Regions from separate parts of the Homo sapiens genome. Here all the other regions are linked to region 3. The links are contacts of gene promoters, found by promoter capture Hi-C in blood cells and fetal thymus (Javierre and others, 2016). All regions are on one chromosome and are shown on one strand. The core of a region is centred on a gene start or on the middle of the fragment in contact, and the rest is flanking DNA. Distances in the headings are between cores, read along the strand shown.

Evidence for each region. Contacts are between HindIII fragments. The CHiCAGO score rates a contact against its expected background, and 5 or more counts as called.
Region 1: a fragment that was not itself captured here is called in contact with the fragment with the promoter of DOK7 in region 3 in 3 of 17 cell types (M0 macrophages, endothelial precursors and naive CD8 T cells); the score reaches 7.6 in M0 macrophages.
Region 2: a fragment that was not itself captured here is called in contact with the fragment with the promoter of DOK7 in region 3 in 1 of 17 cell types (endothelial precursors); the score reaches 5.1 in endothelial precursors.
Region 4: a fragment that was not itself captured here is called in contact with the fragment with the promoter of DOK7 in region 3 in 1 of 17 cell types (M1 macrophages); the score reaches 5.9 in M1 macrophages.

Annotation. Positions count from the first base shown.
Region 1 is chr4:3,208,985-3,214,250 of GRCh38, reverse strand. HTT (huntingtin) reads right to left here. Exons shown (of 67, transcript NM_001388492.1): 47 at 4,302-4,424; 48 at 2,109-2,322; 49 at 1,542-1,687; 50 at 116-293. Among named protein-coding and RNA genes, the nearest start is that of MSANTD1, 38 kb to the left of the region's middle. RefSeq lists enhancers at 1-299, 300-800. The HindIII fragment of the contact is 3,319 bases long and covers 1-2,909 here.
Region 2 is chr4:3,239,150-3,244,233 of GRCh38, reverse strand. HTT (huntingtin) reads right to left here. Exons shown (of 67, transcript NM_001388492.1): 67 at 277-4,388. The coding sequence ends at 4,175. Among named protein-coding and RNA genes, the nearest start is that of MSANTD1, 7.5 kb to the left of the region's middle. The HindIII fragment of the contact is 2,634 bases long and covers 1-2,567 here.
Region 3 is chr4:3,462,054-3,467,477 of GRCh38, reverse strand. It overlaps DOK7 (docking protein 7), which reads right to left and starts at 4,172. Exons shown (of 7, transcript NM_173660.5): 1 at 4,049-4,172; 2 at 3,927-3,972. The coding sequence starts at 4,102. RefSeq lists enhancers at 1,020-1,629, 4,547-5,394. The HindIII fragment of the contact is 8,339 bases long and covers 1-5,424 here.
Region 4 is chr4:3,257,189-3,262,398 of GRCh38, reverse strand. No RefSeq gene overlaps it. Among named protein-coding and RNA genes, the nearest start is that of MSANTD1, 11 kb to the right of the region's middle. The HindIII fragment of the contact is 4,206 bases long and covers 1,244-5,210 here.

The sequences.
Region 1 (5,266 bases), core at 1-2,500, 250 kb after region 3:
CTCTCCATCCCCAATTCCTAGCTTAGTACCTGGCAAACAGGCAGCACAAAATAAAAACATGGTGAAGCAGACAGGAACTATGATAGGAACCCACCGTTCATGGACGGGGACTCACCGGCCTCCAGGATGAAGTGCACACAGTAGATGAGGGAGCAGGCGTGGGTCACAAACTCTGTGGAGGAGACCACGCTCCAGAGGCCAGGCAGCTGCAGGGCCAGGCAGCAGCAGTCCAGCCCTGCCTGGAGATCCAGACTCAGCGGGATCTGCTCATGGATCAAATGCCAGGACAGGGCCTAAAGGGAAGTACCGAGTCACAGAATGCCCACTCGTGTACCTTCGTTTGGGGAAGCCGTGTGAATCACAGTTGTGGAACCGTCCAAAGCACTGAGGGGCAGCGCGTCCAGGTGCCCTTGCCCTTCCAGAAGGACAGCTCTGACATGGCTCCATTACATTCAGTCCTGACCCACCTATTCCCCAAAGTGCCAGTCCCCTCTCTGCCACAAAGCCCCCTTACTCTGCTGCCTCTCTCTCCTTCAGCGCTGTGGGCTCCTGTAGAAATCTCTCCTGGGCTACGTGGCCACCAGGCCAGAGGCTCTTCCTTGGGGCTCCCACAGCACCAGGGCTTGCCTCTGTCATAGGTTGAATTTGAGAGCGTGGGTTCTAGGGATAGCAGGCCTTGGGTTCAAATGCCAGAATGGCTACTTCCTAGCTCAGAGGACCTGGGCAAGTCACTGAAATTCTCTAAGCCTTGCTTTCCTCACCTGTCAAATGGGAGTAACAGAGCCTATCTCACAGGGGGTTGTGAGAGTCAAATAAGATGACGCATATAAAGTATTTCATCCTGCATACAGCAGGCACATAATATAATCAGCAGCAATCACCCTGTGCTGTGATCACACGCTGACTTTCCCACTTCCCCACTAAGCTGAAACCTGAAGGACAGGGATCACAAACCATATGACTCCACGTGGTTCAGAATAAGGGTGTATTTATCATTTTGTGAGTAATGGCACTGATGCCCTTTGGACTCCTCCCTTTCTTTGGTGTGAGGTGGAGGCGGAGCCTCTGTGGGTCTGCAAAGTGTGTCCTTGCTGAGGGCAGGCAGCACAGCGATGGCCCTTTAAGGATACAGGCCAGACTTTAATGCATCCAGAACGTGTACACATTCTGGGGGCGAATTACAAGCACTAACACAAACCAAGTAAGTATTCCTTGGCTGACATGTCCAGGCCAACTTAAGACATAAAGTACTTCCAGATGATTATTTTTCATGTCTCTAAAATTAGGATCCACCTAACATGGTAGGTGCAGATGAGAAGGGGACCTGGCTGACCTCACAGGCCACCATGAGGAGTGGCGAGGTGAGGGTGAAGGATGGCTACAATAACTTGACGGTGACAAGACTTACTGCCAGGCTGAGATGGAAAAGTGACTGGACTGGTCAGAGATCTTGCTTTTCAAATAAAACTGCTTTACCCTCTTCAGTGTCAGCCCCATGCCCCCTCCCCACAGCAACACTGAGCTCCCGAGCTGCCTCTTACCTCAAGGGTTGCCACCACGAATTTCACAATGTCCTTCTCTTTCTCAGGAGGAAGGTGCAAATGACTGGGCAGTTTGGAGACCACCACCAGGTACTGTGCCAGGGCCCGGGCCAGAGTGGGCAGGGACTGATACAGTGCAGCATCCCCTGAAACAGAAGGACCTCGTGGGTGGGTGCAAACGTGAGCACAGATGCATCAACTTCGAAAGGCAGTCAAGCAATTCTCTGAGAATCTGATGAAAGCTCAAGACATTGTTCCTCAGTGGCACATCTACACATCCGTCCACAGGACTGCACGTGGTTTGGGGCTGCATCTCCCCTGAGGTCTGGCCCAGCCTTCCTCAAGGGCTTAGAGCCCTATGTCCATGACCATGTCAATGAATGGCAAAGTGGCAAACACACAGGAAGAAATTCTGAGCCGAGGACACCCGTGCTGCTCTTTAGCTACCTCTGTAAACGCTTTCAATGTATTAGATCCACTGCCTTTATTGTACATTTACTTGGTGCAAAGTACTATACTGGCCCTGGAATGCTTTTTAAAAATAAGATAAATTTTAATTTTAATTACCAAACAGATCATTCAACTTGCTCCAGTAGGCCGCCGGCTCTGCAGGCAGCTCGGGCTGGAAGACATGATGGACAGCAGGGAGCTGCTGCACGGTGCCGCTCACACGGGCCAGAGTCACCTCACGGGCTGCTTCAAAAAGGGCACTCTTCTGGCCACCAGAAATTTCACTCATCCCTAGGCTTAAGCATGGAGCTAGCAGGCTTAGGTTGAACTCCTGAAATCAGAGCATTAAAGGTTAACAAACAATAACAACAGATTATGAGCTTTCAATCAGGTAAGAAAAACACAACAGAAAAAAGAATAAGGCAAATGTTTCTGAGAAAATACAAATTGGTATACCATCAAAAATATTTTTAAGAAAATTCTACTCTATGCCTGTTATAAATATTTGAACAATTTCATTCAACATATGCTTAGTAAAATATATATCTGTTCTCTCTTAGTATTTTAAGTAATATTTTAATTTTTTATGCTCTTGGATTTGCTTGAAATAAAAATTTTGGTATGACAATTTTAATTCATAAAAACAAAATCAAAGCTAAAGTGTCATCCAAGACCTCAGTGATACACCAACCACCCTAAAGTTTGAAAAAGATGTTCAAATGCAGCTGAAATACGTAAAAGTAGCCATATGAATGCCAAAATTTTGGTTGGAAAAATGGTATTTCTTATGTCAATTTGGATTATGTTTTAGCAACCCTTTTGTTTAGCCATTTAAAGATTGGTGGCCGATCCTTCAGGTAAAACATCTATCTTAGTTTAATACTCAGAAAAGCATCATGAATGCCAAAAGTTGAAGCTTTCTTTTACAGTCAGAACTTTTACAGCTGTTCAAAGCCCAATTAGCAAATTTGGAAAACCTAATAAACAGATCACTAAGCAAATTTATCACTCAGTAAGTTAGCTTTCACTGCATGAATCTTAAGATAAACAATTTTAGGCCGGGCGTGGTGGCTCAGGCCTATAATCCCAGCACTTTGGGAGGCCGAGGTGGGCGGATCACCTGAGGTCAGGAGTTTGAGACCAGCCTGGCCAACATGGTGAAATCCCGTCTCTACTAAAAATACAAAAATTAGCCGGGCGTGGTGGTGCATGCCTGTTAATACCAGCTATTTGGGAGGCTGAGGCAGGAGAATCGTATGAACCCAGGAGGCGGAGGTTGCAGTGAGCCAAGATAGCGCCATTGCACTCCAGCCTGGGGGACAACAGCGAGACTTTGTCTCAAAAAAAAAAAAAAAGATAAACAATTTTAGTAAATGGATTTTGGGCTAATTCTCCTGTTGTTTTCAGTTGAGCTCTTCAGTACATCAGAACACACTGTTGTGTTGCCCTCCCCACAAGGTCTCTTTTCATGAACACCTGCCGTCACTCCCGGCCTCTACAGGCATTTGTCCTCCCAGGTGCCCACTTCCCTCCCATTTGCTGCATATCAACGCAGGGCTAAAGCACCAGGAGGTTTCTCCCGTCCTAGTAGGTCTGAGAAGAAGCCCTGCTTGGGCCATGGCTGCACCATACCCAAGAGGTGGCCCCCCCACTGCTCACAGGACCTGCCCACGGGTGAGGGACAGGGACACCAAGGCTTTGCATGGCCTCCTAGCTCTGCGCAGGGTGCCCTCTGACATCTGGGGTTGGGGGGTGAAGAACCTCACTACATCTAACAGAGGTGTGAGTAGAGGAAATCTCGCTGCATCCAAGGGTCTCTTTTACGACTAAAGATCAACTTCCAAGACACTAGAAACAAGTTATTGACGTCACGCATTACGACACTGTGTTGAAGTCTACGGCAAATACGCAACCTTGACTTCCATTCTGTCTTGGCCATGGAGCTTAGATGATAACATCCTGTGTTTGTTCCTCCAGTGGAGGCCAGATAGTTCTCATCCCAAACCATACACCCAGCCTTGGGGCCAGCTGGATTTCAAAACAACACCTCCGTGGATTCTAATGTGGCTGAAACAATGTGCTTTTCTGTCTCGATCAGCATAACCCCCATGTCCCGACCCCATCTGAAATGGAGTCCTCCCCACTTCCCGGCCCCATTCAGAGTGGAGTCTCTCCGACATCCCGTCCCTGCCCAGACTGGAGTCCCCAACATGTGTTGTCAACAAGTGGGTCACATGATGATGAGACAAATCCCACTTGGAAGTCACAAGAAAAGCTGAGGATTCCTTGCCTCCACTGCTCCCCCCGTACCGAGTTCATCATGAAGGCATTCATATCTTCAGCAGGAATCCGATTCACCAGCTCTGCACCTTCCAGCAGTGCAGAATCTGACCTGGTCCAACACTGGGATTTGACAAGATGAACGTACCAGTCCTGGGAAGAAAAAAATGGATAAGGGGAACATGATGGGCGGCGTTCAAGGGGACTTCACATCCCTGGAGCTACAGGCCTAGGCCAGTGCTTGGGAACACCGCACTAGGCTGAGAGGGCTGCCGGCCGGCAGGCTGTGGCTATACGGCTCACCACACCACAGGTTTTCCCCTTTGGACTTCTGTTACCTGCCTGGGCACCCTCACAGCCTCCCCCTTCACCTGGTGAACTTCCAATAGGCCTTCCAAATATAGCTAAACCACTAAGGGTTAGCGGCCCCTTTGCCATCCTCTCCTGGGTTGTCTGCTTTACTCATCTCTCCCCAGCAACCAGGGCAGGGCAGGTGCTTAGCGAATAGAGCCTAAGAAGGCAGGACTGAACCTTCGCTTTCTTATACTTGGGCTGCTGGTTTTTGAAATCTAAATTCATATTCATAAGCTGAACTTTGTCCAGGAAAGTAGAGTACCAAGGCTCTACCAAGGCTCTACCAAGGCTCCAGGTGGTCCCTAACCATGAGGTATGAGCAGTGGAGGTGCTGACAACATACCAGAATGGCTGGCAGTGGCAGTGCAACTCACAGGTGGCCAGAAGGTATGAGGAGATGGAGGGAGGCTAACGGCATTGACATGTGCTTGAAGGCCTGTGCAGTCAGGGGCCTGCAGGCCACGGCCGACTATTCCTTGATTCACCCACTAACTACTCACCCCACACTCCTACCAAAAGGGTCCCACATCAGCACTGCTTGGCTCCCTCAGACCTTGATGGCCCCCCACGTCTCTAACCACAGCTTCACTGAGCCGAGCCGAGCGCCAGAACTCCTTGGGTCCACGGCACCTCCTCTGCAC
Region 2 (5,084 bases), core at 1-2,500, 220 kb after region 3:
AGGAAGACCACCTGTACTGTGGTTTGGGAAGGCCCTTGCAGAAGCACCCAGCCAGGCCCATGCCCTGGGGCCACTTCCTCATCCCTGGCTACAGAAAACACGGGGCCTGTCCCTGCTGGCAGCTGCCTGGGGGACCCTCCATAATGCCAGATGTTAGCTGGTGGGACAGTTTCTGCCCCTGCTGGAGAAGCACTTAGGAGACTGCTTCCTAAGACTCCAGCTCAGCAAGGTCTAGGTTCTCATGAAGCAAAGCAAGCCTCACACAGCAACAACTGATGGTTTCCATTTTTTTCCTTTAATTTGGATGTACAATGTTTGCAGCAGTTAAAAAATTAAATATACATCTCTCGTCAGTCCTTCCCTTTGCTCTCAGAAGCATTCAGGTCTGGGTGGGGCTCCGGGACTCGCCCATCACAGCCCTGCTGGCTCCAGGGGAGCTCAAGCTCAGCTGACAGTCCCTCTGACCACGGTGCAAAGCAGTGAGACCTGGACAAGGAGGCCCCACTTGGGTCAGAGCCCACCCTCCGTAGGCAGGTCCACGTTGGCCACGATCCTCCAAGGCTGGCAGTTACCACCCAGATTGCAGCGGGAGACTCTGCTCTTAGAAACAACTGAGGGGAAGGCGTTCCTTTGACTGCACCAGAGCGTGACAGGCACATGGGGGAAGAGCGGCCCCTGAACCTTCCAGGTTGCCTTCAGTTGTCATGCGGCATTCTGAGCAGCTCCCTCCTTCCCAGGAGGCCCAGGCCCGGCAAGCGAGTGTCCTCGTCTGAGCCATCCTGAGCTCTCCAAGGTCCCTCAGCAGCTCTCAAGATCTTCCTTCTTCTCACTCCTACACGTGACCCCTCTGGAGGACAGCTCCAAGTCTACCCTGGCCAGCAGCTGTGGTCCCGGGTCCTCCCCGCAGAGGGAGGAAGCGGGGGAGGGACAAAGCCCGATGAGGATGTCTGCTGGGAAGGATGCTCACAGGTAGCAAGAGAAGCCTGACTCCACCCACCAGACACACAGAACTAACCTCACTCCACCCCGCAACGGGAGGAAGTTCCACCTGCCAGGCGGCCACACACCGAGTTATTGCTGTCTACTATCCGTCCCGAGCTCCACGTGGGGCTCATCTCAGCTCCAAGAGGAGGAGCTGTTCATTGGCTCCGAGGGCTCTGAAATGACCCCCTCCATGAAGATGGGGGCGAGGGGTGTCCTTTAGGGCACAGGGCCTTCTCAGATGCTACATTCTGGGTGTCTGGAGGGGGTTCAGCTTCACATTTTCCCCTTGAAAGGACACATGCGCTGGCAGAAATGAGGGTGGACAGTAACAAAGAGCACTTGGCAGCTGGAAACATCACCTACATAGACTCAGCTGGGCCCGCAGCGGAAGGGAGGCACATTTTGGGAAAGAAACACGCTTCAGTGCATTGCCAAACAATTCTACCCTGGTTTCATTAAAATCTTTCCCGATATTACCAGCAGGAAAACAAAAGCAATCTCCCCACAGCCCACCCCCAAAACTTGACAACCAAATTAATCACATTTGCAACAAAATTTGGATAATACGATGGGTGCTTGCCACAGATTTTTAGGAACATGATAAAGTCTTCCTCCCTTCTGCAGAGAGCTGATATGGAGACCATCTTCGCCAGTGGGATCCTAGTGGGCAATGAATGAGCCCTGCCCTGACCACGTCCCACGCCTGGATGTCCGTCACGCGGCTAACTTGACCTGGCGGGTCTAAGGAAAGTCAACTTCCAGGAAGAACCGACACGGGCACTCTTAGAGGCCATGCATCTCCGTCTTGAGAGGTGTGTGTGTAAAATTATAGATGTGTCTATATGCACATGCATGGATACTTTATGTATATGCGTGGGTGAAGTCATTTTTACTAATGAGCTCATATTCATCTCCGGAGCACACAGGCAGGTCTTTGGGGGTGGGGGACACCTACTGCCAGAGCGGGGTGTTCTGAGCCCCTTGCTAAGGACTGGTTTAGATCACGTCGTAAACAAGAGGAAGACAAACTCTATGTTGAGCCCAGCGATATGCATTCCAAGGGAATGGCTCTGTTTTACATTCACAGTGTTATTTCTTACAAATGTAAACATCTAGCCAGGAACAACATCTGGCCTGTGATACTGCTGTCTCAGAGCTGCTGACATAACCTGCGGGGGAGGCGGGAGGCGGGTGGGGAGCAGCCAACAGTTCTGAGAACTTTCCCCTCGTTCCCAAACCTTCTAGCGGGCTTTCCAGGAAAAAGCTAGGATGAGAAACAGGAGCCCCCAACCAATACGGAATGGTGATTTTCTTACGTGTTATAATTCAGTAGCTTCCCTTAAGGGCCTCCTCAAACATCGGACCCCTTTCTACCGCTCCTGCTGCCCCGCCACGAGGACGAGGTGGTCCTGGCTGGGGGAGGCCTCTGTTGGGAGCTGGTGGGAAAAGCCTCATACAGGCCTGGCAGAGGCTGCTCAGAGGAGGGGCTCCCTTTCAGCTCCCCCTCACGTATGTGGGCAGCATACAAGTCCACATCTCAGCTGCTCCCCAGCTGCCACATAGGAGAGGGACAGGTGGAAGCTTGGGGGTCTCAAGGCAGCACCTGCACAGAGTTCCAACATTTCCTCCACTTACCACATTCAATACCCAAAACATCGACGGGCATGACCAAACCAAGCCACATGACAGTCGCCAACCTTGCCTGGCTCGCCTCTAGGGCTGAGGAAGCAGAGCCCCTGCCTCGTCTCACAGCCAGTCGGCAAGCAGAGCTCCCAAATCCAGCTCCTACATCAGCAGCAGCCCGGCCATCCAGAATCCACTTCCATTTTAATGACTTGGCTCCTCTGGGCCTGCAAACAGGAGGCTGGTCCAGGGACCTGGCCTGGGGATAGGAGTGGCGGCTCTGACAGGGCCGTGGGGCAGTCTCCGATGAGCACAGATCTGCACTCTCCTGACTAAAAGGGGTCACCGTGCAAGATGTCAGCTGGAACGGGGGCAGAAGGGATGCTGGGCTCTGTCACTAACAGTGCCAAGACACCAAGCTTTGCTGTTGACCGAGAGAGGCTCAGACAAAACACAGCTCAGTGACACTCTTAGGGCATGCATCCATGGAGCAGCAGGTCCCAACACCTGCCAGCCAGCTCCTAGGCAGACGCCACCCCAGGGCTAGCAAGGAACAGGAGTGGGAGGCCCATGTCTCTGGACACAGTGGAGGCTGCTCACAGCCAGGGAGGGCTGGCCTTCTCAGCTGAGTGACAGGGAGGCTGCTGTCCCTGACTGGTGGGTGGAGAACGACAGTCGTCTGTGCCCGAGGAGGAGGGGCTGCAGGTGAGCGCACCCCTAGGATAATGGGGGCCTGTCCTCAGTCCTGCTGTGGCCACCTGCCCACTAACGCCTCTCTACATCCCAGTCACCTTGTGAATGCATAAACAGGAACATGTACAACGGAAATGTCAGCGGGTGCTCAGGAGGGCTATGCCAGTGGCTACAGGAGAGGGAGCGTGGCCGGGGGCCCTGTCCACCACCCCGGACGCTGTCGCATGCAGCACAGGCCTTGCGATTCACATACTTTACACGGGCATAGAAAGAGTTACGTTAAAATTAATCTCTTTACTGATATAATTAAATTTTAAATCCTGAGAAGAAAAGAGAGAAGGGAGAATGGTGCCGGGTGTCTAGCACCCCCAGCCACTGGCCCAGCACAGGCCATGGCATCTGTGCATCCAGACACGGGGCGTGGCATGCACACCCCACCAGGGAGACCCAGGCCAGTGTTCCCAAAGCCTGCTCACGGCACCTTCTACTGCAGGACAGCAGAGGGGCCAACAGCCAGCCTGCAGGAGGGAGGACTTCTGGCCCAGATGCAAGAGCAGCTGCAACCTGGCAACAACCAGCAGGTGACTATCAGGAGAAAGGACCTGGTCACCCACATGGGGTGCAGCACAGCTGCTCCTGCTTTCTGGAAGGCCTCAGGCTCAGCCCCACCAGGACTGCAGACACTCCCTGCCTGGCCACTGCCACAAAGAGCACTTCTGCCACATGGCAGAGACACGCACGTTGCCTGGCCGCCCGCGGCATGTGCGGAAGCCCATAGGGACCAAGCTGGCTCGGTGGAGGCAGGGCACAAGGGCGCAGACTTCCAAAGGCTCCGGCCCCAGCTGCCGCCTCACAGTCTCTCCCACCATGGCGCTCAGCAGGTGGTGACCTTGTGGACATTTCGTAAACAAGTCAGCAGCCGGTGATATGGGCTTCCTGGGGCTGCAACCACCTCAAGCACAGACTGGAAGGCCCTGCGGTCGAGCTCCTCCTCTATCTGGTGTCTGTAGAAGTCTGTGGCGACCAGGCAGAAAAGGTTCACGTCCACCTGCTCCAGCTTGCCCATCCTGCTGATGACATGTGGGAGGCTGGTGCAGGAGTTAAGGAAAAAGGCCGGCAAATGAGGGGAATGCTGCCTCCCTGTCCTCACCTGGGAGTTCCTCTCCTGAAACAGTCTACAAAGGGGTCCAGGGAGCCTGGAGAGCGAGCAGAGCCCCGGAAGGGCCACCTGGATGCCTCCAGCTGCATCAGCGCCTCCACCTCCATTCCTGCAACCCTTGGCTGGCTGGATGCCCTGCAGGCAGGGCACCCACTCGGCAGCACTCACCTGGCCTGGCTCCTGTGCAGCGCTGGTGGCCGGTGCTTCCGCTGGCCTCCACTAGCCCTGCTCCAATGCAGTGAGGGCAGAGCCGTGCCAGGCACGCCGGGCAAGGCTGTGCTGTCAGCACCAGGACAACTGTGCTGCTTGGAGGCTCTTGTGGTCTGTCTTGGGGAAGGGCTGTGGAAAGGGAAACTCCTGGCAGCCAGCATCTGGGGGTGGGAACTGGATCTTTACTTAAGCCTTTCCCCGAGAGGGCGATCGAGGCACAATGACCAAAGCTAATGAGAAGCAGTGTCAGGAGAAGCCCAGCCACACAGAGCCCGCGAGTGGGCGGGACGTCTGCAGAGACCACCGCCCACCCTCGCTCCCCTCACCCAGGCCCTCCACAGAAAGGCCCCTCAGCTGCGACCCTCCTGCCATACACCGGCCCCTCTGAGAGGCCCTGGTCAGCAAATGTCTGGAC
Region 3 (5,424 bases), core at 2,923-5,422:
GAGGGATGTCTGGGGTGGGGGGGGGGGGTCTTCCCTGGACACGTGAGGCTGAGAAGCCCACCAGACACCGGGCGGCGATGCACACAGGCAGTTGGACGCAGGCTTCTGGAGATGTAAAAATAACTGTGGAGTCATGAGCACACGGAAGGCCTTACAGCCAGGGCGGAGAGCCGGGGAGGGCGGGAGGGAAGAAGGAGGAGGGGGAGAAGCCGCAGGGAAGATGGAGCAAGCAGGCATGGTGGCCCAGGGAAGGCAGGGGCATGTGTGGGCCGGGGACGCAGTGGGGGGGGTCCCCGCCCACACTGAACACGATGGGAGTCCGCAGAAGTGGCTGCGGGACAGCCTTTGGAGGTCACAGTGACCTTGAGGCTGTGCCCTTAGCAACGCAGGTGGTAGCCGCCTGAGGGGACCCTGCTGGGGTGCAGCAGCCTGGAGCCGCCCCCAGAAGCTGGGCAGGAGCAAGGGGGGCGGCCATCGACCAGGCCGGCCTGCTGATGCCTCCTCGGGCCAGGCCACAGCCAGGACACACGAGACCAAGATCCAGTGCCTAGCCCCGGACCCATTCACAATCTGGTTCGGGAAGGAAACGCGTGAGGGTGCCCCTGCCCGGCACAGGTGTTGGAGGTGTGGTGCAGGTGGGCCCCCCAGACCACAGACATCACCAAGGGCAGCCCAGGACGAGGCTCCAGATGCCAGGGCCAGGCCCTCGCGCCCACCTCTCCATTGCCCTCAAGAGCCCTGTGAGTAGACGAGGACGCAGGCGGGGAATGAGCCGTCCCAGGTCACTGCTCCCACATGTGGAGCTGAGAGCTGAACCCCAGCTCTCTGATTCCCTGTCCTGACGCGGGGGCTGAGGGAAGGTCGCCCTGTTCTTGATGTTTCTATGGGGAGAGGATAACTGGCCACCACCCACGCCCGGTCTTCAGCCCGGAGCTGGGATGTCAGCCCCAGTCCGTTGGGGCAGGAGCCAGACGCACAGGAAATCCACCACCAGGAGGCTCTGCTCAGGAAGGGCCGACCCAGTGTCCACCCCCAGCCCCTCGTTAGCGGAGGCGCTGTGGAGGGCAGGGCCCCAGGACAGCACTAGCCGTGGGGCAGCTCCGGGGCTCACGGGGCACCTGCCAGGGGGCTCCCGGCTCCTGCGCCGTCTCCGTGGGGTCCCTCCTGCAGGCCGGGCTCAGTCCCACCGAGAGCAAGGATAGGGGAGACTAAGCAAGGGCCCAGCCATCAGCCCGGGGGCAGGCGCGGAACTTCCAGCCAGCTGTGGGGGGCAAGGTTTGGGCTGGCTGGGGGGAACTGGGCTCTGCCCAGCAGTCCATGTCTTGGGCCAGATCCCTCGGGTTTCTGAGTTTCAGCTTCCCCCCACCATGGTGACTCCAAGACCCTGCCAGCTCCAGGACTCGGGCCCTCCCGGTGGCTTTTCTGAGCTGGATGAAGCCCCCAGGGGCAGCCCCTGTGGGAAGCAGGCCCCCTCAAGTGTCTGGCCTGGGGCCACACTCTCCACAGGATGTCAAGAACACTTTCCTCACCACCCCCAGCCCCCGCACCTGGGAGGAAGAAGAGAGGGGCTGGGCCAGGCGCCGCTGGCATGCAGGGCCACCAGCAGTGAGTCCTGGGCCACAACTGGACACAGACCACCCTCCTCCCCCGGGGCCCTGCCCAGAGAGGGGACGCAGACACGCATTCCGCAGTGAGGACGCGGTGGAGACATTGAGGAACGTGGTCCCACTGCAGGGCACCCTGCAGTCCCACACCGAGGCAGACGGCCCGACGTCCACTGGCCATGCCAGGCGCTGTGGCTGAGCAGCCCTTTGATAAAAGGGTTTCCCTTTCATTCGCTAAACCTTGTCATAACAGAAAGACGTGCTCACGATTGAGAAAAACGCAAGGAGGAGAAAGGTGCCAGTGGAAAAGGTGCACATCGGGGCCCTTCCCAGAAGGAAATCACCACTGGTAACAAAAAGAACCCTGCCTGTCTTACAAGGAAGCAGACGGGACCCTTCCTCTCTCCCTCACACCAGGAGCGCAGGGTCTGTGCTGTCTGCTCCTCCAGGGCTGGGGCCTGCTCCCTCCACGCCGGGCCCATCCACAAGGGAGGTGGTCTCCAGCGCTGAGCGGGAAGGCAGCTGGGTGAAGGCAAAGGGGGCAGCATCTAGGGAGGCTTATGAGGGGCCAGGGGAAGAGGCATCAGGGCCTCTGAGCGGAGAGGAGGTGCCAGGCTGGCCTGGTCAGGGTGGGGAGGTGGGCGTGAGAACTCCGCTCTGTCCCATCCCCTCATCTGACCGACCTCTGGGCAACCCCACAGGGTGTCAGTTTCAACCCTGGGCTGCTGGAGTGACCAACACAGAAAGCAGGTGTCCAAAGCAATGGGTCCCAGGCCAGTGAGTCAGTGGGTGCTAGGGACACCTGGCCTCAAGGCTTGGAATGAACATCCACCCAGAGGGGGCATGGCACCTTCTACTACCCCACATCACCTCCCACGCCAGCCCCAGAAGGCTGCAGATCTCAACTGCGCAGGATACGGGATAACCCAGCAGACGCTCGGGAGCCACCATGTTCACCTACAGACTCACAGATTGTCCCACCTGGGGGACCCATTGCAAACTCCTGTCACTCCACTCAGGCACTCACCGGCCGGGGGAGCACACCCTCTTGAGGCTGGCAGGCCCTGCCTCCTGGGACTGTCTGATGCAGAAAGAAAATCCCTCCAACAGGGACAAAGACTTCTCCCCCGACACTCCTCTTTGGGGGCTGCTGTCCCGGGTGCCTTCCTGGGATGCGGCCTCTCTGGAGGGTCTGCACCGGCTCCAGCCCAGCACCATCCACCAAGCATCACCTGCCCCACCACGGCCCCGACCCAGCCACAGCTGACTAAAGCCTGTCATCCGCCCCAGCCTGGCAGGGCCTCTCACTCTGCCCAGACCCCATCCCTTCCTATACCAGGTCCCCTGCAGCCCCGGAGGACAAAGACGCCCTCCCAGGCTCTGTCGGTGCCCCCACAGCTCCAGGCAGGAGGTCTGGGCACGGAGGGCTGAGTGGAGAAGTGACCAGCGTGCAGTCCAGGCCCTGCAAGGGGAGGCGGAGGCAGGCAGGAAGTGCTTTCCTCCAGGACCACCTGAGGCCCTGCAGAGGGGACGCAGGAGGGATCCCTGCCCCACACCCTCCCTGGGAGTCACAGACACCCGTCCTGGAGGGTGCTCTGGCAGCCCCCTGGCGTACAGCCCCCCATGCACACAGGCCGAGCATCCCACCCAGACCCGGGCCTGGCCGGCTCTGCCGCACCTGTCCTCTGGAGCAGCTGCAGGCCCGGCTCAGCCCTCCCTACAGGCCCAGCGCTGCAGGCGGCCTGGGCTGCCAGACCTGGGGGCTCCATGCTGACCCTCCCCAAGCTGGGGTGCTGGCTCAGGGCGGGGACTGGGGGGGGACCCCTGCCTCCTCCCAGAGGACTGTTCCCCCAGCAATGTGGCAGTCACTCTGCCCTGCCCTACCGCAGCCCAGCCTCTCGTCTGCCTGGGAGGGGTCCAGGGTCAGCGCTAACCCACGCAGCACCCCTGGAGGCTGGGTTCGGGGGCCCTGCTCTGAGCGTTTCCACAAGCACAGCTCAACCCTCAGGTATGTGGGGCTTTGCTTCTGGGGGGCCCCTTGCTGCTCTGCTGGGGGGCTCAGGGCCTGCGTCCCCTCCGCCTACAGGGCCACCAGGCAGCCCCTCGGGCCTCAGTCTGCCCTGCTGGAAAGAGGGTTCTTCCGTCCAGGGCCCCCACCTGCGCTCCCAGGGGCGCCGGGGGGTCCGGGTCCGCACGGGGCTCTCGGGTTTCCCGGCGGGGTGACAGCGGCGGCGATTTTGGGCAAGCTGGCATTACTGCCCCGGGCCTCGGTAACCCGTGTCGCTACCCCCGCGCCCCCCGTCCCCCGCCCGCCCCGCTCACCTGCCACGGGCGACGGCTTCCGCAGCACCAGCCACCTACTCTTCCACTGCGGGGACAGGGGGGAGCGTGAGCCGCCGCCCGCGCCCGCGCCCCCCCCCCCCGCGCCCCCGACGCGCCCCGACCTTCTTGCCGTCCCGCAGCTTGACCTGGCCCTCCACCAGCGCCGCCTCGGTCATCTTCTGTCATGGTTCCGCGCCGCCGCGCTCGCCCCGGCGCCCCAGCCCAGGGTCACTTTCAAAATAGCTCGCAGGGCCCTGGGCTGGGCCAGGAGGGCGGGCCCGCGGGCAGGGCGGCGACACCGGCGACTCCAGGGCCGGCGCGGGCGGGGCTCCTTCTCCTGCGGGCGGCTCCCCCACCCCCACGGGCCCCTCTGGCCCCACCGTCCCGCGGCGGCCACTGGAGCCGCCCGCCCTCTGGAGCAAGCGCACCATCTGGGCTCAGACGCTCAGACCAGCGCCTGGCGGGGCGGGGGTCGGGCGGGGACTTCTTTTTCAAAAAGCAGAGACAACCACCTAGCAGACATCGGCCCCGCTCTGGGCACTGCTCCCAACTTTAAAGTTGGTCTTCAAACAATCCGGCTTCCCAGACTGGCATCTGCCCCTACCCCAGGGGTCACTAGACACCCGGACAACAGACTGGCCACAGGCAGCCCAGGCCTAGGATGCTCTCACATCCCCAGGCTTCCCCCACACTGAGGTGACCCCTCCCCAGGCAGGCAGTAGGGGTCGGGGAGCCCCTGGCAGCCTCTGTCTCTTCCTCCATTTCTGTTCCCATTAAAAGCCTGCAGGGACCCCAGTGCAGGTGGGCGGGTCCAGGACCCACAGTGCCGCCTCAGGGCCCCAGGTCTCCACCTCTTCTGCCCCCATCCCAGGCAAGAGCAGGCCCTGGTTAGGCCAGCCGGCTCCGATGGGCAGAGGAGCTGCCTGCTTTGTAAAGGACCTGCCAGCAGCCCTCCCAGCTGGGTGGACTTTGCGCTTCTGGACTCCCCCTCCTTGACCCTGTGGCTCCAGTCCAGCTGTCCCCAAGCTCTGGCCTGGGCATTAGATGTCACATCCAGGTTCTTCTGCAGAGAGGCCATGTGCTTTGGGGGACCTGGCAGGTCCGTGCCTTGGGTGTCAGCCCCATCCGAGAGACGGCCTCCACCACCCTGGGGTTGGGGACACCCAGCAGATACGGGAACAGCAGTGGGGAGGGGCGATGGCACCCTAGAAGATAAGCACCTGGACAAACAGCAAAGCTCCGTCCACATGCCCTACCCTAGACCCCATCCTCACGGGGCTGACGGTTCTCGGGGGAGAAGAAGGAAGGGGTAGACAGTGTCCCGTTAGGGAGGAGACGTCTTCATTTCATCCCATCCAGACCCTAGGCTGGGCTCTGTCTGCCTCGCACTGAGGAGCAAATGGAATCAGGGCAGCGTGAGGCCTCACAGCCAGGACTGAGCCACATCGGCTGACCTCAGAGCAGGGCTCAGAGGCATCGGGAGCCCTGGGCGCCCCTC
Region 4 (5,210 bases), core at 2,097-4,596, 200 kb after region 3:
GCACACAGAGGTTCTGGTTTTTCCCCATGCCCGGGCAACAGCCAAGGCCTGTGCCAGTCCAACCATTCTATCCTCCCCTAGGCCAGGATGCCTCCTGAGCACCCCTCACCCACCTCCCAGGCTCCACGCCACACCTGACCCTCCCTGCTCCGGGACTCTCTTGTCCCAGCAGAAAGCAGGGTGTCCCTGTCCAGGCCCACCTCGCCCTCAGAGCCAGCTCCCACCTAGACAGTGCAGCTCCCAGTGCTCAGGTGAGGGCGCCCCTCCCACTCCATCCGCTCACATGACATTTTTTGAAGGCCTTTTCTCTCACCCCACGGCTCCAATCCCCCTACAGCCTTATTTCCCTGGAAAGCACCTCTCTTCTAACATACTAGACACTTACGTGTTTATTGTTGGTCTAGCCCCACCCTCAACTCGAAACCCTGTAAAGACAAAGATTTGTATCTGCTTTCCACCTGACCCTATCCCCAGTGCCTACAAGACAGCAGGGAGTCCCTCTGGGCCCGCTTGGGGGCACGGTTCCCACACGCTGTCTGTGATGACGCCACCCAGTCACACGGAGGGCCCCTTTGTGTGACAGCGCCCGTGCGTCCACCAATCGCCAGTGAGCCAGCTCTGGGTACCGGGCAAGGACAGACGAGGCTCGCTCAGGTCACCTGTGTGCCCGCTCCAGCATTCAGGCAGTGGTTCTCAGGTCTCGGCCTGTGGGTCACCAAGGGTCCCTGAGGTTGCAGCTGCTTTCATCATAGTCTGATGATCACGGGGTCTTCACGGGGTCTTCACGGAGCTGACATGCGCACTGATGTGGCAAGACCTGAGCAGGAACGCAGGCAGGCCCCGAGCCCCGGCGCAGCCCTGAGGGGTTTTCGCACCGCACAGCTGCAGTGTGAAACGCCGGTCACTTCCAAATGTCCGTGATGGAGTGAAAATGGTCGAGTGTGTGAGGTCTTGACCCCTGGGTCCACATCTTTTCAACGTCCTGCCCGAGCAACTGGAAGGCGCGCCTGCCCCACGTCCACGCTGAGGAAATGCAGGTGTGCAATGGGCTGAGCTGCCGTCTGGATCTGGAACACACGTATGGAGCACACTTTTTACTCAAAAAAAGGATGTGCAAAAACTCTGGTTGTTCAGCCTTGGGTGTCCTGGCAGACTTTTTTTTTTTGGAAAACGAACAAAGTGAGCCTGTCTCATTCAAAGAAAATAGCTGACAGCATTTGTTACCAATGATAAAATTCAAGCTTTCATGCAAAAATCAGAATTCTGAAAGACACCACCATGAGTTCACCACCTTTCCAACTGAAAGACTTTTCTAAGATTGGTGATATCGCCAAAAGTGATTTTAAAATACTGATTAAGGAACTGTGTCAGCATTTGGAATATCCGCATAACTTAGTGAACCAAAGGCCCAGCGTGTGAGGTCACAAAGGCATGATGGACAGAGTCCTTGAAGCACAAGACGGACCAATGGATTCTCCTGAAATGAAGTAGAAGTTCATTGATAGGGTATCAGATTCCACACACAACCGGCCAGTAAAAAACCACCACCTGTCGGCCGGGCTAACACCTGTAATTCCAGCACTTTGGGAGGCCGAGGCGGGTGGATCACGATGTCAGGAGATTGAGACCATCCTGGCTAACACAGTGAAACCCCATCTCTACTAAAAATACAAAAAATTAGCCAGGTGTGGTGGCGGGCGCCTGTAGTCCCAGCTACTCAGGAGGCTGAGGCAGGAGAATGGCGTGAACCCGGGAGGCAGAGCTTGCAGTGAACCCAGGAGGCGGAGCTTGCAGTGAGCTGAAATCGCGCCACTGCACTCCAGCCTGAGTGACAGAGCGGGACTCCGTCTCCAAAAAAAAAAAACAAACCACCACCTGTCCAGTGTTGGAATAGGATCACGGAAGAATATACCGATTATTTGCAAAGGTTATTAAAATGTTCCTTTTCTTTTCAAATACACATCTGGGTAAGAATGAGCTTCTCCATTCACTCCTATACTTCACAACCAAAACACCCCCAAAGTGGACGGACCCAGAGCCTGCTGAGAGGCCAGTGGGCTTCTCTTAAGCCAGAGATTTACGACCATGTAAAACTATGCCACACTTCTCCCGAAAACTTTTTGTTTTGGAAAATATATTTTTCATACAATTGTTATTTATGTTAATATGTCATGGGTTTATTGCTATTTTGAAATGAATACATGTTTTCTAAAGGTCTCAGGTTTAATTTCTAATAAGATATTCTAATGTGTATTAATATTGGTCATTAGAACTCACATAAGCAAAAGTTCTTTGGCACTTTTAATGAATTTTATTTTATTTTATTTTTATTTATTTATTTATTATTTTTTTTTGAGACAGAGTCTCGCTCTGCTGCCCAGGCTGGAGTGCAGTGGAGTGATCTCAGCTCACTGCAAGCTCCACCTCCTGGGTTCACGCCATTCTCCTGGCTCAGCCTCCCAAGTAGCTGGGACTACAGGCGCCCGCCACCACGCCCGGCTAATTTTTTGTATTTTTAGTAGAGACGGGGTTTCACCGTGTTAGCCAGGATGATCTCAATGTCCTGACCTCGTGATCCGCCTGTCTTGGCCTCCCAAAGTGCTGGGATTACAGGTGTGAGCCACCGCACCTGGCCCACTTTTAATGATTTTTAAGAGCGTTGAGGGGTCCTCAGACCAGTTTGAGGACGGCTGCCGCAGGGTGGCCTGTCTAGGAGTGGCACTGACCAGAGGAAATGCGTTTCTTCAGCTTTAGGACGGGACACCAAATTGCTCCTGGAAGCGGCTGCACCACATCCCACCAGCAACGCAGGAGTCTCCATTTCCCGACGTTCGTCCTGGCCTCCAGCAGCCACATGATCTCAGTCTGCGGTTCCAACTCCCCGACTCCGAGGGAGGCCGAGCGGTCTTCTCACGCTGACTGGCCTTGGACTTTTGGCCCCGTTCTTTTTTCATATGAATTTAAACATCATCGCGTCCATGTCAAAACCAAGAAGTGATATTATTGAGACTATGTTTGGAATGACATTAATAAAATGATGACATTGACTTTGGAGCTTTCAGGAGTGTGCGAAGTTTCTCCAGCGCTCAGGTATTATTTAGATTTTTCAGTAAGACTGCATAGTTCTCTTCAGTAGAGGTCCTGTTCCTTCTGGGTTAAATTCATTCCAACTCTGAATGGGATATTTCTTCATCCTCATTTTCAACAAGTTTAAGCTGGTTTAAAGAGCTCCCAGTCTTTTGTACATTTGGCTTTCTGGGTATACAAAAATGAAATCTGAAAACAAAGGTAACTCTACTTTCTTCATTTCTTATCCTGCTTATTTTATTTATCTTTTTTTAATTTTTTTTTTTTTTTGAGACCGAGTTTCACTGTCACCCAGGCTGGAGTGCAGTGGTGCAATCTCAGCTCACTGCAACCTCCGCCTCCCGGGTTCAAGCGATTCTCCTGCCTCAGCCTCCCAAGTAGCTGGGATTACAGGCATGCACCACCACGCCCAGCTAATTTTGTATTTTTAGTAATGACGAGGTTTCTCCATGTTGGTCAGGCTGGTCTTGAACTCCTGACCTCAGAGGATCCTCCCGCCTCAGCCTCCCAAAGTGCTGGGATTACAGGCGTGAACCACCGTGCCCGGCTTTTGTTTATTTATCTTAATGCATTAGCTAAAAACGTCAAAACAACATGAAATACTACAGGTGAAAAGCAAGCACATCTGCCTGGCTCCTGATTCTAGTTTTCAATGTTAACATGCTGCTTTGCTGAATCTTATCAAATATTTTAGCAATGGCTGAGATCATTTTTTTTCTCCTTAATGGACCAACAACTAAGGAAGAAATCAGAAAGTTGTTAAGGACATGCTGCTGATGAAAGGCACCAACCCCACGATATTCTACAGCTGAGTTCTGCTGACATGAGGCGATGCTGCTCCAGCCTGGAGAAGGTCGGGCAGCGCCTGCCCCTTCTCTAAGGTGATGGAAGGGCATGAATCACTGACTCTGATTAGAGAGGGCGAGAAGAAAACAGACCAAACCACTTCTAACCCAAGCACAGCAGCGACTCGCGGTGTGCTGTCCCGGATGCCTGGCAGTTACTGAAGTACCGGTGCGTCATGGCTGACTCTACAGCAGTTTCAGGGTGAAGAAGTTGCTACATCATTTAGAACCTCCATCTGTTATGTCTTGTGGGAGCGTCCAGCCTAACCTTCCTGCCAGGGCCGCGGGCACCCTTCCCTCTCGAGGGCTTGTGACTGGCTCCCTGTTAGGAGGCTGGGGAACCCCACACTGGCCCCATGGGAGCTGCTAGCCAGCCTCAGTGGTCAGCAGCTGGGGGCAGGTGCCTGTGTCATGGCTGGGTTCCCAGCATCTAGGGTGGCACAGGTGTCCAGTTGGAGCCCAGTGTGTTTGTTAAGCAAATGATTTCTTGGGTGGTGTCTTGCCTACGAGGCGGGTGGGTCCCGGAGCTGGAAACTGGCTAGAGCAAAAGCTCCCAAAACTCAGGCCCGCATCAGATGTGCCCGCATCCTCTGTCCTCCTGGGGCCACCCTTCCTTCTGCTTCTCGGCAGGTGCTATGGCAGCCACACTGGCTTGCAAGAGCTGGCTCTGTGCATCTCTTCTCAACCACAGGGTCAGCGGCGTCATCTGGCAGCTGGAAACTGGCACCGTAGCGCTGGCTGCTGCTCCCTCCTCCCACCACTGCCGCCGCTCCTTACACCCTCACGACACTCTGCCTCTCATCCCACAGCAACATGGGCCGAGTCCTCGGCACACAGGCTCTGGGGAGATGGCTGAGGAGGGTGGGAGCTCCAGGACCCTCAGAGTGAAGTGAATCCTGCTTGCCCAGCTCCCCTTTGGGCTCCACAGAACACGCCGGCCTCTCCTTCACACAGGCAGGCCGAGGGCACCCTCCACACCACCATGGTCCACAGGCTGGTCCCACACCCAGTGGAGTCCAAGCTGCTCTCTTGCCTGGCTGACCTCAAGACCCCCTAGAGGGTAGGATGAGCTGCTGCTGCTTGTCGCAGGATGACTGCAGCACTGCCTGGCAGGATGCCTGCTGCCACACCTGCCTCTGCACCTGTCTCCACGGCCTGCTCGCTTGGCAGCCAGAGGGAGATTTTTCTGAACCCTGAGTCAAACCATGCTGTTCACCTGCTGACCCACCTGCCAACAACCTTCTATTTGGGCAGCAACTTGCCTAATTCCAGGAGGTG